Linked DNA regions of Homo sapiens: regions 2, 3 and 4 are each linked to region 1. The links are contacts of gene promoters, found by promoter capture Hi-C in blood cells and fetal thymus (Javierre and others, 2016). All regions are on one chromosome and are shown on one strand. The core of a region is centred on a gene start or on the middle of the fragment in contact, and the rest is flanking DNA. Distances in the headings are between cores, read along the strand shown.

Evidence for each region. The method cuts DNA at HindIII sites, captures the fragments that hold promoters and counts their contacts. A CHiCAGO score of 5 or more calls a contact.
Region 2: a fragment that was not itself captured here is called in contact with the fragment with the promoter of SLC17A4 in region 1 in 2 of 17 cell types (naive B cells and total B cells); the score reaches 5.4 in naive B cells.
Region 3: a contact is called between a fragment that was not itself captured here and the fragment with the promoter of SLC17A4 in region 1, in 1 of 17 cell types (naive CD8 T cells). The highest score is 5.1, in naive CD8 T cells.
Region 4: a contact is called between a fragment that was not itself captured here and the fragment with the promoter of SLC17A4 in region 1, in 3 of 17 cell types (total CD8 T cells, naive CD8 T cells and M1 macrophages). The highest score is 7.2, in total CD8 T cells.

Annotation. Positions count from the first base shown.
Region 1 is chr6:25,753,288-25,756,162 of GRCh38, reverse strand. SLC17A4 (solute carrier family 17 member 4) reads right to left here and starts at 1,421. Exons shown (of 12, transcript NM_005495.3): 1 at 1,382-1,421. It also overlaps a transcript of SLC17A1 not described here. The HindIII fragment of the contact is 7,086 bases long and covers 1-2,875 here.
Region 2 is chr6:25,954,120-25,956,994 of GRCh38, reverse strand. No RefSeq gene overlaps it. Among named protein-coding and RNA genes, the nearest start is that of TRIM38, 7.2 kb to the left of the region's middle. The HindIII fragment of the contact is 3,225 bases long and covers 1-2,875 here.
Region 3 is chr6:25,934,787-25,937,661 of GRCh38, reverse strand. No RefSeq gene overlaps it. Among named protein-coding and RNA genes, the nearest start is that of SLC17A2, 5.5 kb to the right of the region's middle. The HindIII fragment of the contact is 1,070 bases long and covers 953-2,022 here.
Region 4 is chr6:25,897,983-25,900,857 of GRCh38, reverse strand. No RefSeq gene overlaps it. Among named protein-coding and RNA genes, the nearest start is that of SLC17A3, 25 kb to the right of the region's middle. RefSeq lists an enhancer at 2,153-2,742. The HindIII fragment of the contact is 699 bases long and covers 1,024-1,722 here.

The DNA of each region.
Region 1 (2,875 bases), core at 172-2,671:
GACCATTTTGGGTCCTATAGGCCTGGTAAGGGGACTGGATCTACTATGGCCACTGTGTGGCACATGGGCTGTAAAGGACAAGATTGAGAACCAAGAGACTGAACAAGAAGTTGTTTCTTCACCTGTACAAGTGTTGATGGTGGATGGGCTAGGCTAGTTGTGGTGAAAAAGACCACATTCAGGACCTGTTTTGGAGATATGCCACTAAGACTTGCTAATGAGGTGTATATGGGAATGAGAGAAAGGGAAGAATCATCAGAGACTTCTAGACTTACGGCTTGAGCAAATGAGTGAATAGTGTTGCACTCAAAGAAGTTGGCGAAATGAGCAGGGAGGGCAACAGGTTCCAGAGGAAAAGCAAGAACTTTATTTTGGACACTTGGGGTTGAGACTCCTGTTAGACCCAGAAGGGAAGATTGACAGGTAAGTTTTGTGTCTGTGAGTCCATAGCTAAGAACAGAAGGGCCTTTGTAGAAATATAAATGTGTGAGTCATCAGCCTTATCTATTTATTTTGAAACCAGGTAAATGAGGAAAAAACAGCAAAGAAATGGAGCCAGCCATTCTTATATCAATTTCTCATCAGTTTTTCTTGCCAAGACTGCTTGTGTCTGTTCTTTTTGGATTCATATGCACCCTGTTCCTCTGCTAGTTATCAGTCCACTGTAGAATGAGACTTTTCCTTAAGGTGCTGGGCAGAGCTATTAACAGCTCAAATGTCATCTTAGGTGGTCTCAGCACTGAACATTTTTCCTCCTTATGAGAAACAGCCCATGGCTCTTATTCACAGTTTGCAAATAAAGTCCTCTGCCCTAAACTCTTCATCATTAACTACTTCCCAAAGCCATATTAGATTTCATTTATTTTGCTTTCCCATAAATTCGCTGGAACCAAACCAGAACCGTTTGGTTTTCATTAATTTTTTAGGCATGATGAAAATCTTCCTCTCTGAGAATTCAGTATTGGCATTTATTGTCTCACTGTGGATTTGATCAATGCTTAAAAAAATTAATGTACTTCACAAAAACAATCCAAATATATCATTTAGTTTCTGTCTCTTCCTCTCTCTCTTTCTTCCTCTGTGTGTGTGTGTGTGTGTGTGTGTGTGTGTGTGTATGTGTGTGTGTCTGTCTGTCTGTCTCTGTTCAGCTATACTTTTAGAAAATTTCATTCTCTTGAATTAATTCCCTGTAGTTCCAGGGCTCTTAATGCAACATCCCTTCTCACTTACCAGAATTATCTCAGGACACAGGCATTCTCTTCTCCACTCCCACAATCTCTGCCCCTAAACAGCAAATTAAGCTGCTCTCTAACAGAAACAGACCCATTCCCATCATCTCAAAAGCAGAATATTAAGGGTAAAAGTTTGAAAGCTAACTAACCTGAGGGAGGAAGAGTGCAGGATCCTCATTCCTTTCAAATAAATATTCTAAGCTCTTTGCAATTGTCTAATTCTGGGAGGTAAATAATTACCCAAAACCTTTAGCCCTTATGTTACCAGCTTGGAGAATTTTATTGGCCCAGTGGTTTAATTTTTAACTTTACATTTTATTGTTTGATTGATAATCAAATCAAGCTCATTAAATCTTCCTCATGCTTCAAGCCCAGCTGAGGTCACCTATGTCTTCCCTCATCCTTAATCAGAATCAATGTCCCTTCTTATAAGGATCCTGACACCCCACATGTTTCACTGACAGCACTATCCCCTTCTGGGGTCTCTCAGAGTTATTATAATCTTCATGGAGATGGGGTATATTTTGCCCCTTTTGAGTCCCTTTTCCACCATCCTGCTGTTTAATAGAACTGAGCTTTCCAAAGAGGAGAGACTTAATACATTTTGGTCGACTTGAGTGATTTTTATGGTTTTCTGATTGTAATTTTTTGCACAAAGGCCATTGAGTTTTCCATGAAAATTAACTCTGTGATTCTCCTCCCTTTTATGGCAAAACATTTCAGAAGACTCATACATATTTGCATTCTGGTTCCCCACCTCTAGTTTTCTCATGAATCCATCAGCAACAAGACAGCCCTTAGCAAAGCCATCACCAGCCTCTCTGCCAGCAAATCCAGTGGTCACATCCCAGGCCCCATCTGTCAGTGCTTGACAGATTCCACCACTCGTTCCTTCTTGATGCCTTGTTTCATTTAATTCATTCAGATCTGATTTTCCTCGTGTCTCATTGGTTGTTCCTTGTCAATACGTTTTGCTGAATCCTTATCTTTTCTCTGGTTTCTAATGTTGATATGCCTAAGACTCTGTCCTTGAACTTCCTCCCTATCTAAACTCACTCCCAAGGAGATCTCAGCCAGTCCCCTTTCCTTTCACACCCAATTCTGACCTCTTCTCTGAGCTTCGACTTCAACTTCATCCATCTCTCCTTGAGTACCCATTAGGTATCTCAGTCTTATGACTGCAAGCAGAACTGAATCTCCCTCCAACCCTACTCCTGGCCCAGGATCCCCCATCTTGGTTAATGGCATTACCATTTCCCTGTTAATCTTGCCAAAAAAAAGTCAGCCTTCATTCTATACTTTCCATCAACATTAATTCCAACAGTATGTTCTATCAGTTCCACCTTCATCTCTTTCCATTATTTTTTATTTTCTCCATTCCTATCACAATCATCTATCACCAGGGTAAATAAAATGATTATTTACCGGGCCCCACTGTTTCCATTCTCTCTCTTTTAATCCACCCCACATAGCAGGCAGAATGTTGGAAATGTACATATGATCATGTTACTTACTGGTGTAAAAGTCTTCCAAAGCCTTCCCAGAGAACCTAGGAGAAAAGAGAGCAAATTCACCTTCCTGAAGGTGCTCCAACACCTTACATCACCTTGGACACACCAACCTTACTGACCTCTGCCCTGCTG
Region 2 (2,875 bases), core at 208-2,707, 200 kb before region 1:
AGCCCCCCAACCATCTGAATAGACTTTCTCTTCAGTCAGGCTTCTTAAAATGTAACCTGAAAGACTGGCTCAGGCCATTAAGGGAAGTGGGGGTTGAACATGCCTCATTATTCCTCTCTGGCATTAACATCAACACAGCTTTTAAGTCTGATAAGAAACATTTTACAACCTATTCTCTCTGAAGCCTGCTAGCTAAAAACTTCATCCCATAGTACAACTTTGGTCTTCACAACCTGTTATCACAACCTAGTGCTCCTTTCTATTAATCCCAAATCTTTATACAAACTCAACCAATTGTCATCACCTCCACCCCACTCCTCCGCTGCTTCCAGTTGTCCCGCCTCTCTGGACCAAACCAGTGTACATTTCTTAAACGTATTTGATTGATGTCCCATGCCTCCCTAAAATGTATAAAGCCAAGGTGCATCCCAACCACCTTGAGCGCTTGTTCTCAGGACCTCCTGAGGGCTGTGTCATGGGCCATGGTCACTCAAATTTGGCTCAGAATAAATCTCTTCAAATGTTTTACAGAGTTTGGCTCTTGTCATGACACAGATGACTGCTTCACTGAAGCCTGCTCTGGAAGTGAGTGGGGGTTTTGCAAGGATAATTTTCCCCGGATAGCCCCAGAAGCAGCTAGTAATAATACACTTAAAGGTAGCTAAAATGCATTGAACACTTGTTTTGTGCCAGACCTATGTCAACATTTGCTTTGTGCCAGGCTTATGCCAGTACTCCTGATTTGTTAATACATTCTAAATAAAAATTCTGGAGTTTCAAATATAATAACTGAAAAACAGAAAATAAATAAAAATATATAATAACTGAAATAAAAATTTACTAAGGCTGGGGATGGTGGCTCACTCACACCTGTAATCCTGTTACCGGAAAGGGGTCCGTCCAGATCCAGACCCCAAGAGAGGGTTCTTGGATCTCACACAAGAAAGAATTCGGGCGAGTCTGTAAAGTGAAAGCAAGTTTATTAAGAAAGTAGAGGAATAAAAGAACGGCTACTCCATAGGCAGAGCAGCTCTGAGGGCTGCTGGTCGCTCATTTTTATGGTTATTTCTTGATTATGTGCTAAACAAGGGGTGGATAATTCATGCCTCCATTTTTTAGACCATATAAAGTAACTTCCTGACGTTGCCATGGCATTCGTAAACTGTCGTGGCGCTGGTATGAGCATAGCAGTGAGGACGACCAGAGGTCACTCTCATCGCCATCTTGGATTTGGTGGGGAGCAGTGAGGATGACCAGAGGTCACTCTCATCGCCATCTTGGATTTGGTGGGGTTTAGCCAGCTTCTTTACTTTTTTCTTTTTTTTTTTTGCCCAGGCTGGAGTGCAGTGGCACGATCTCAGCTCACTGAAACCTCCAATTTCTGAGTTCAAGCGATTCTCGTGCCTCAGCCTCCCAAGTAGCTGGGATTACAGGCATGTGCCACCACACCCAGCTAATTTTTTATATTTTTAATAGAGACCGGGTTTCGCCATGTTGCCTACGCTGATCTCCAACTCCTGCGCTCAAGCCATCCAGCCACCTTAGCCTCCCAAAGTGCTGGGCTTATAGGTGTGAGCCACCCCACCTGGCCTAGCCGGCTTCTTTACTGCAACCTGTTTTATCAGCAAGGTCTTTATGACCTGTATTTTGTGCCCACTGCCTGCCTCATCCTGTGGCTTACAATGCCTAACTTACAGGGAATGCAGCCCAGCAGGACTCAGCCTTATTTCACCCAGCTCCTATTCAAGATGGAGTCTTTCTTGTTCAAATACCTCTGACAAGCCCAACACTTTGGGAGGATGACACAGGAGGATTGCTTTAGCCTAGGAGCTCAAGACCAGCCTGGGCAACACAGTGAGACCCCATCTCTAAAAAAAAAAATACAAAAAAATTAGCCAGGCATGATGGTGTGTGCCTGTAGTCCCTGCTACTCAGGAGGCTGAAGTGGGAAGATGGCTTCAGCCCAGGAATTCAAGGCTGCATTGTCAGAGGCATTTGAACCAGAATGACTCTATCTTGAATAGGCGCTGGATAAAATAAGGCTGACACCTGCTAGGCTGCATTTCCAGTATGTTAGGCATTCTTAGTCACAGGATGAGATAGGAAGTCAGCACAAGGTACACATCACAAAGACCTTGCTGATAAAATAGGTTGTGGTAAAGAAGTTGGCCAAAACCCATCAAAACCAACATGGCCACCAAAGGGACCTCTGGTTGTCTTCACTGCTCATTATATGTTAATTATAATGTATTAACATGCTAAAAGACACTCCTACCAGCATCATGACAGCTTACAAATACTGCGGCAATATCTGGACTTTACCTTATATGGTCTAAAAGGTGGAGGAACCCTCAATTTTGGGAATTGTCCACCCCTTTTTTGGAATGCTCATGAATAATCCACCCCTTGTTTAGCACATAATCCAGAAATAACTATAAGTATGCTTATTTGAGCAGACCACGCTGCTGTTCTGCCTACAGAGTAGCCATTCTTTTATTTCCTTACTTTCTTAATAAACCTGCTTTCACTTTACTGTATGGACTTGCCCTAAATTCTTTCTTGTGTGAGATCCAAGAACCCTCTCTTGGGGTCTGGATCAAGACCCCTTTCTGGTAACATCTTTCTGGTGACCACGAAGGGACAATACTGAGGAGACTCTGAAGCCAAAGGAAACAGACTACAGCACCAACTGGCTGACTTTGGGTAAGTGGTGGAGTCCCCGGGTAAAGGATAGGATTGGGTTAGAGGTGCAACTTAGGGGAGATAGGGTCTCTCCTAAGACAGAGAGGGTTTCAGTCCGCTCTTAATAAAGGGCAAGAATGCTTGACCGAACTTGGGTTTGAGACCCAACTTAGGAAGGCTACAGTCCTTAAGA
Region 3 (2,875 bases), core at 238-2,737, 180 kb before region 1:
GTAGAGGCTGATTCAACTTCTAGAGGCTGTCTGCAGTTCCTGTCACCCAGGGTGGAGTGCAGTGGAGCAATCATAGCTCACTGCAGCCTTGACCTCCCAGAATCAATCTGTTCTCCCACCTCAGCATCCTGAGTAGCTGGGACCACAAGTGTGTGCCATCACACCTGCCTAAAAAACAAACAAACGAAAAAAAACCCCCAGAGAACTTTGTAGAGACAAGCTGGTCTGGAACTCCTGCGCTCAAGCAATTCTCCTGCCTTAGCCTAAAAGTTCTGGGATTATAGGTATAAGCCACCATACCTGGCATATGGCAAGTCTTGAGCAGGACAAATACAGATGATTTATGTCTGTCTTCCATGGTATTCTAGGTTATTGTTGAGATGGTCCTCTATTGTCTTGTTCCATCTATTGATTAGATAAAACGTTGTTCCTTCTGTTATTTTTCAACAGTAGCTTTTATGTGTCTCTCTTTATCTTAAAATTCTAACCAAAGAGCTGCTCTTTTCTTGGTGTACTTTACCTTTGGTTGATCCTTCTTAACCTCTTCTTGCCCTCTGGGGCCTAAGATGAGGGCTGTTATCAGATGTGAGTCTATGGGAAAGCAAGCAAGAGGTTCTTCAGCCTCCGTTCAGCCTTAAATGTCTAGGTAGAAATCAGTCATGGCCCTTCCAATGTGGTACAGACCAGATCACAGAGACAGGGGTCTCAGCCAAGGTCTTGTGGCCTAAGCCTTATAGAAATAATGAGTGTTTACTTACTTGGAGAACTCCCTTGGAATATCTTTTTTTGTGAACCTGAGGCAACTTTTGGTGATTTCTTGATGTCTTGGGAATCTTGGTCTAGAGCCATTTCAACCCGATTTCTTTTCATGTCAGTGGCATTTTGTGACCAGATAGTAAATAAGTTCTATGATGTTCACTCAGAGAAATACAATGACTTATGATGCGAAGCTTCTGTGGTTCAGCCCTTACTTCATCTTCATTCCCTCTTATCTGCATCTGTCTCCTGCTTGGGAACAAAAGTCTGGCTTCATTCTATGACCCCCACGTTGAGTTTCTTAGTAGCACTTACTTTTCAATTAGGAGTGTCCTCACTTCTATCCGTCAGACATAACTAGCCGACTAAACAGTCTAAATATAAAAATCATGTCCTACTCCTGCTGAAAACATTTTAATTACTCCCCATCATTTAATTTTTTCTACTGGGTTATCTTTAACTTCAGAGTTGGTCTTGTGTGCAACACAAGAAAACCTGGCATATACATGGATTCAAGTGTATGCCACGTGCATGTATTCCTTCATGTACTATTTCATGTATTCTTTTTCACATCTGTTTTTTCCTCTAAAATTTATTTCCTTTTAAAAATGAAAATTTTGCATTTGACTAAATTTGTCAAATTTAGTCAAATTTGTTTAAAACCATTTTTAAAATGTTTCCCGAAGTTTTGAGTGAAGTTAGTACTTCAGAAAAACTGTTTTGTATTTTTCCTGTGACCTCAGTGCACTGCTGTGCATTTCCATTTCTGCGTCCACACACATTTGTTTTGAGGAAATATAGGAACGACAAGATAAAGTTCAAGCTCCTGGACATTGCATAAAAGACCGTCATGACCTGGTCCTGTTGACTTCCCTAGATTTCCCGCTATTTCCTAAGTTGAGATTTTTGGTTTGGATGCTTTGTGTTTTCCTAAAATCAAAATAGGTTTTTGCCTTTTATGATTATACAGTAAATAAATGCTATTTGTGTGAAACTTTAAACAATACAAAAAAAACCTAAGGAAGAAAGTCAGATTCATCTAAAAATCCTTGTGGCCAGAATTAACTACCTTAGTTACTATTTTCTCTATCTCTCTCTCTCAATGTATATTTGGTGTAGGTATAGGGGTGTGTGTAGTGTGTGTGTATGTATATATCTGTTTCTATTCCTGTATGTGGATGTGCACAACGCATCCTGCTTTGTACACTACAGTACTAGCATTTTTCTAATGTAATTCAATATTGTTGAAAACATTTTAAAAAAGCTTGTATATATACACACACATACACATACATGCATGTATGTACATATACACATACAGACAAAAATGTATCCTATGTATATTCACACATGTATACACACTCACACATACATAGAGTTTTACATCCATAGTTTATAAATGTTGCTTTTTTTTGGTCACCTTTTTGCTAAGTCTTACACTTTTTTTTTTTTTTTTTGAGACGGAGTTTTGTTGTCATTGCCCAGGCTTAGTGCAGTAGCGCGATCTCACCTCACTGCAACCTCGACCTCCCGGGTTCAAGCGGTTCTCCTGCCTTAGCCTCCTGAGTAGCTGGTACTACAGGTGTGCGCCACCATGCCTGGCTAATTTTTGTAGTTTTTTTATAGAGACGAGGTTTCACCATGTTGGCCAAGCTGGTCTGGAACTCCTGACCTCAAGTGATCTGCCTGCCTCAGATTCCCAAAGTTCTGGGATTACAGATGTGAGCCACTGCACCCGGCCAAGTCTTACACATCTTTTTTTTACCACTAAACTGTTTACCCAAACCTGATAACCCAAGTCAACAGCTATTATGGCTCACACAATCTTATGTAAACAAAGATACAGATATATAGAATTTTCTTGATTAATATTCAGAAAAAAATGGAGTCCCTTTATACGTCCTTAGTATCTGCTTTACTCATTTAAAAATGTATTACATTATATGAAAGTATTCAGGTCAAATGTTATAGATGTGATTCATTCTTTTTAACTGTGTTATTTTTCTGCAATGACTATGTATCACAAAGTACTCAGTCTTCCACTGATGAAAATTTGGGCTATTTCCAGTTTGTCTTCCATTTTTCTTTCTTCCTCTTGGATTTTCACTCAATGTGTTTA
Region 4 (2,875 bases), core at 124-2,623, 140 kb before region 1:
TTGTCACATCATTTTAGGGAGAACATGATATCCACATGACATCACTGATATTAACCTTCATCATGTGGTTTAGGTAATGTTTCAGGTTTCTCTACTGCAAAGTGATTTTTTTCCCTTAATTTAGCCCACCTGAACTTATCAATTTTGTTTTCTTCCATGACTAATACTTTTGTTATTATAGCTAAAACTTCATTGGGGCCAAATCTTAGATCATGTAAATTTTCTTCTATATTTTATTCTAAAAGCTTGTAATGTTTGATACATTCTAAAAGATGTAATGTTTGATACATTACATCTAGTCCTTTGATTTATTTTTAGTTACTTTTGTATAAGGTGTGAGAGATGTCTCCAGTTTCACTTTATTAACACATTGTGGTGTTCCAGTACTATTTGTTGCTAAGACTATCTTTTTTCCATTGATTACCTTTGCCTTAGTTGGCAATATTTTTGTTGGTTTATTTCTAGACTGTTTATCTCATTCCACTGATTTGTGTCTATCTTTTTGACAAAACTGTTGATTACAGTAAGCTTTGAAATAGTTCATTTTTTGTGTCAACTTGACTGAGTCAGGGGATAACCAGCTATCTGGTTAAACATTATTTCTGGCTGTGTTTGTGAGCGTGTTTCTGGATGAGATTAGCCTTTGAATAGGTGATCCTAGTAAAGTAAACTGTCTTTCCCAGTGTGGATGGCATTATGCCACCTGATATTCAGGGTCTGAATAGAAGAAAAGGCAGAGGAAGGGGGAATTTGGGCCTTTTTTTCTGCCTCACTGCTTGAGCTGGGACATCTCATCTGGTCTCCTGCTCTTGAACTGGGATTTACATCATCAGTTCCTCTGGTTCTCAGGCCTTCAGATTCAGACTGAATCATACCACCAGCTTTCCTGGGTCTCCAGCTTGCAGATTACAGATCATGGGACTCCTCATCTTCCATAAATGCATGAGCCAATTCAGTCTATGTCCTTGAAAACTGCCCCACTGCAGATTAAGGCTTTTTTCCACTAGGTGAAATAAAGAAGCTTGTTAGACAGATTTCCCTTCATCCAGTGCCCTCTCCTCTTTAAGTTACAACACATTGGCTACACCTAAGTGCAGGGGTGGGGATGAGGGTATAGTCCTCTTGTTTGCTGAGAAGAGAACTGTATTGGGAAAGCTCTAGAAGTGTTTGATACATACATAAACAAGGCATGGTTTTTGCACTTAATTTCACATTACATTTTTCCCAGAAAAAAAGGAATGTATAGGCATCACGTAACTGTACTAGCTGGAGTCATTCTTCCTGATTATCAAAGGTAAACAGTTATTAATCCTATACCAAGATGTCAAGGAGAAGTACTTTTGGAACACAAGGAATTCTCTGGGAGTCCTTACTACTCTCAAGCCCAGTGAAAAAGTTAATGAAAAACTATAGTACCTTCCTATAAGCTGGATGACTAATTACCAGGCTCATTTAGGAATTTGCCTTACCAAGTAAAACATAAGGGCAGCTGAGGTGCTGACTGAAGACAAATGGAGCATAGAATAAGAGTAGTAAAGAATGCCAAAAATGCTGTCATGTATCCATTGACAAAAGGAGCTATAAAGCCTTTAGGTATTTTCACACTTGCTCTGTTACGTAAATGTATGTGTGTGTGTGTGTGTGTGTGTGTGTGTGATCGTTTATTTTTTCCTTCTTTCCCACTAAGATGTATTAATACTGATTAACACTATAAGTTAAGCTTATAGGATAGGCTATCAAAAAATGATTGTGACTGAGCTGAAAAGAACATTACTCAGGATGGATACAGTGAGTTTCAGATGTTTGTATTCTACTTGGGAGCTACAGACAATAAAAAAGTAAAAACATATACAGTTTGTCAGCTACTGATAAGTGCTATGGAAAAAATTAAAGAAGGAAACGGGGATAGGGTGGGATTAGGTGTGGTAGCCATTCTAACCTTGGTGCTGAAATCTATCAGTATTCTGTTCAGCGATCCACTGTCTGCTACCTGGCCATATCCCCCTGGGAAGTGTGAGCCACATTACTAGCTTCATGTGGTGAATTCTGACTGGTCCACACCAGTCATGTGGTCCCTTCTTCTGTAGCTGATTAGCTCAGGCAGCACCTGAGACTAGGCCAAGTTTTGGCAAATGAGACATAAGGGGGAGTTTTCTGGAAAGGCATTCCTTGATCTCCAAGAGAAACGCACTGTTTCTTCCTGCCTTTAACTTGTGTCTGCATGGACACTTGAAACTGTGACCAGCATGGGGGGTAAAGCCTGCTGTGAAGGAGAGCAGAGGCAAGAAGACTGAGGGCAGTGGAGCCAGAGCTCTGATCACCCTGCTCTGGAACCTTTCTGCCTTTGATGTCCTGTTTGGGGAGATAAGAAATTTATATAGTGTTTAAATTTGTTGAGTCAGCGTTTTCTGTACCTGCAGTCAAAAACATGCTGAGTGATTCAAGAAGTTGGTCAGAACTTCAAAAAATTATTATTCTACATTTTCCCCCAAGTTTTTCTGAGGAAAGAGAGTGCTTGGTAGGCAGGATAACCCTGGAAAGTGGCCATGGGGCTGAGGCGGGTTTTGGAGAAATGCAGACACTGTTGTCTGATGTGAGTTTCACCTGATGAGGGATCAGGATCTTCTTTCATATAATTTGGGAAAGCAGATGTTGGTCCCTTTAGATCTGTTAACTGACATTTAGCATTCAAAACTGTCTCGTGATTCACAGAAGTGTTGTAAGATATTATGCAGATTTTAGCACAGCATTCAACCATTCAATCAGATTTTTATAAAGACTTTTTTTTTTTTTTTTTTTTTTTTTTTTTGAGACGGAGTCTTGCTCTGTCGCCCAGGCTGGAGTGCAGTGGCGGGATCTCGGCTCACTGCAGCTC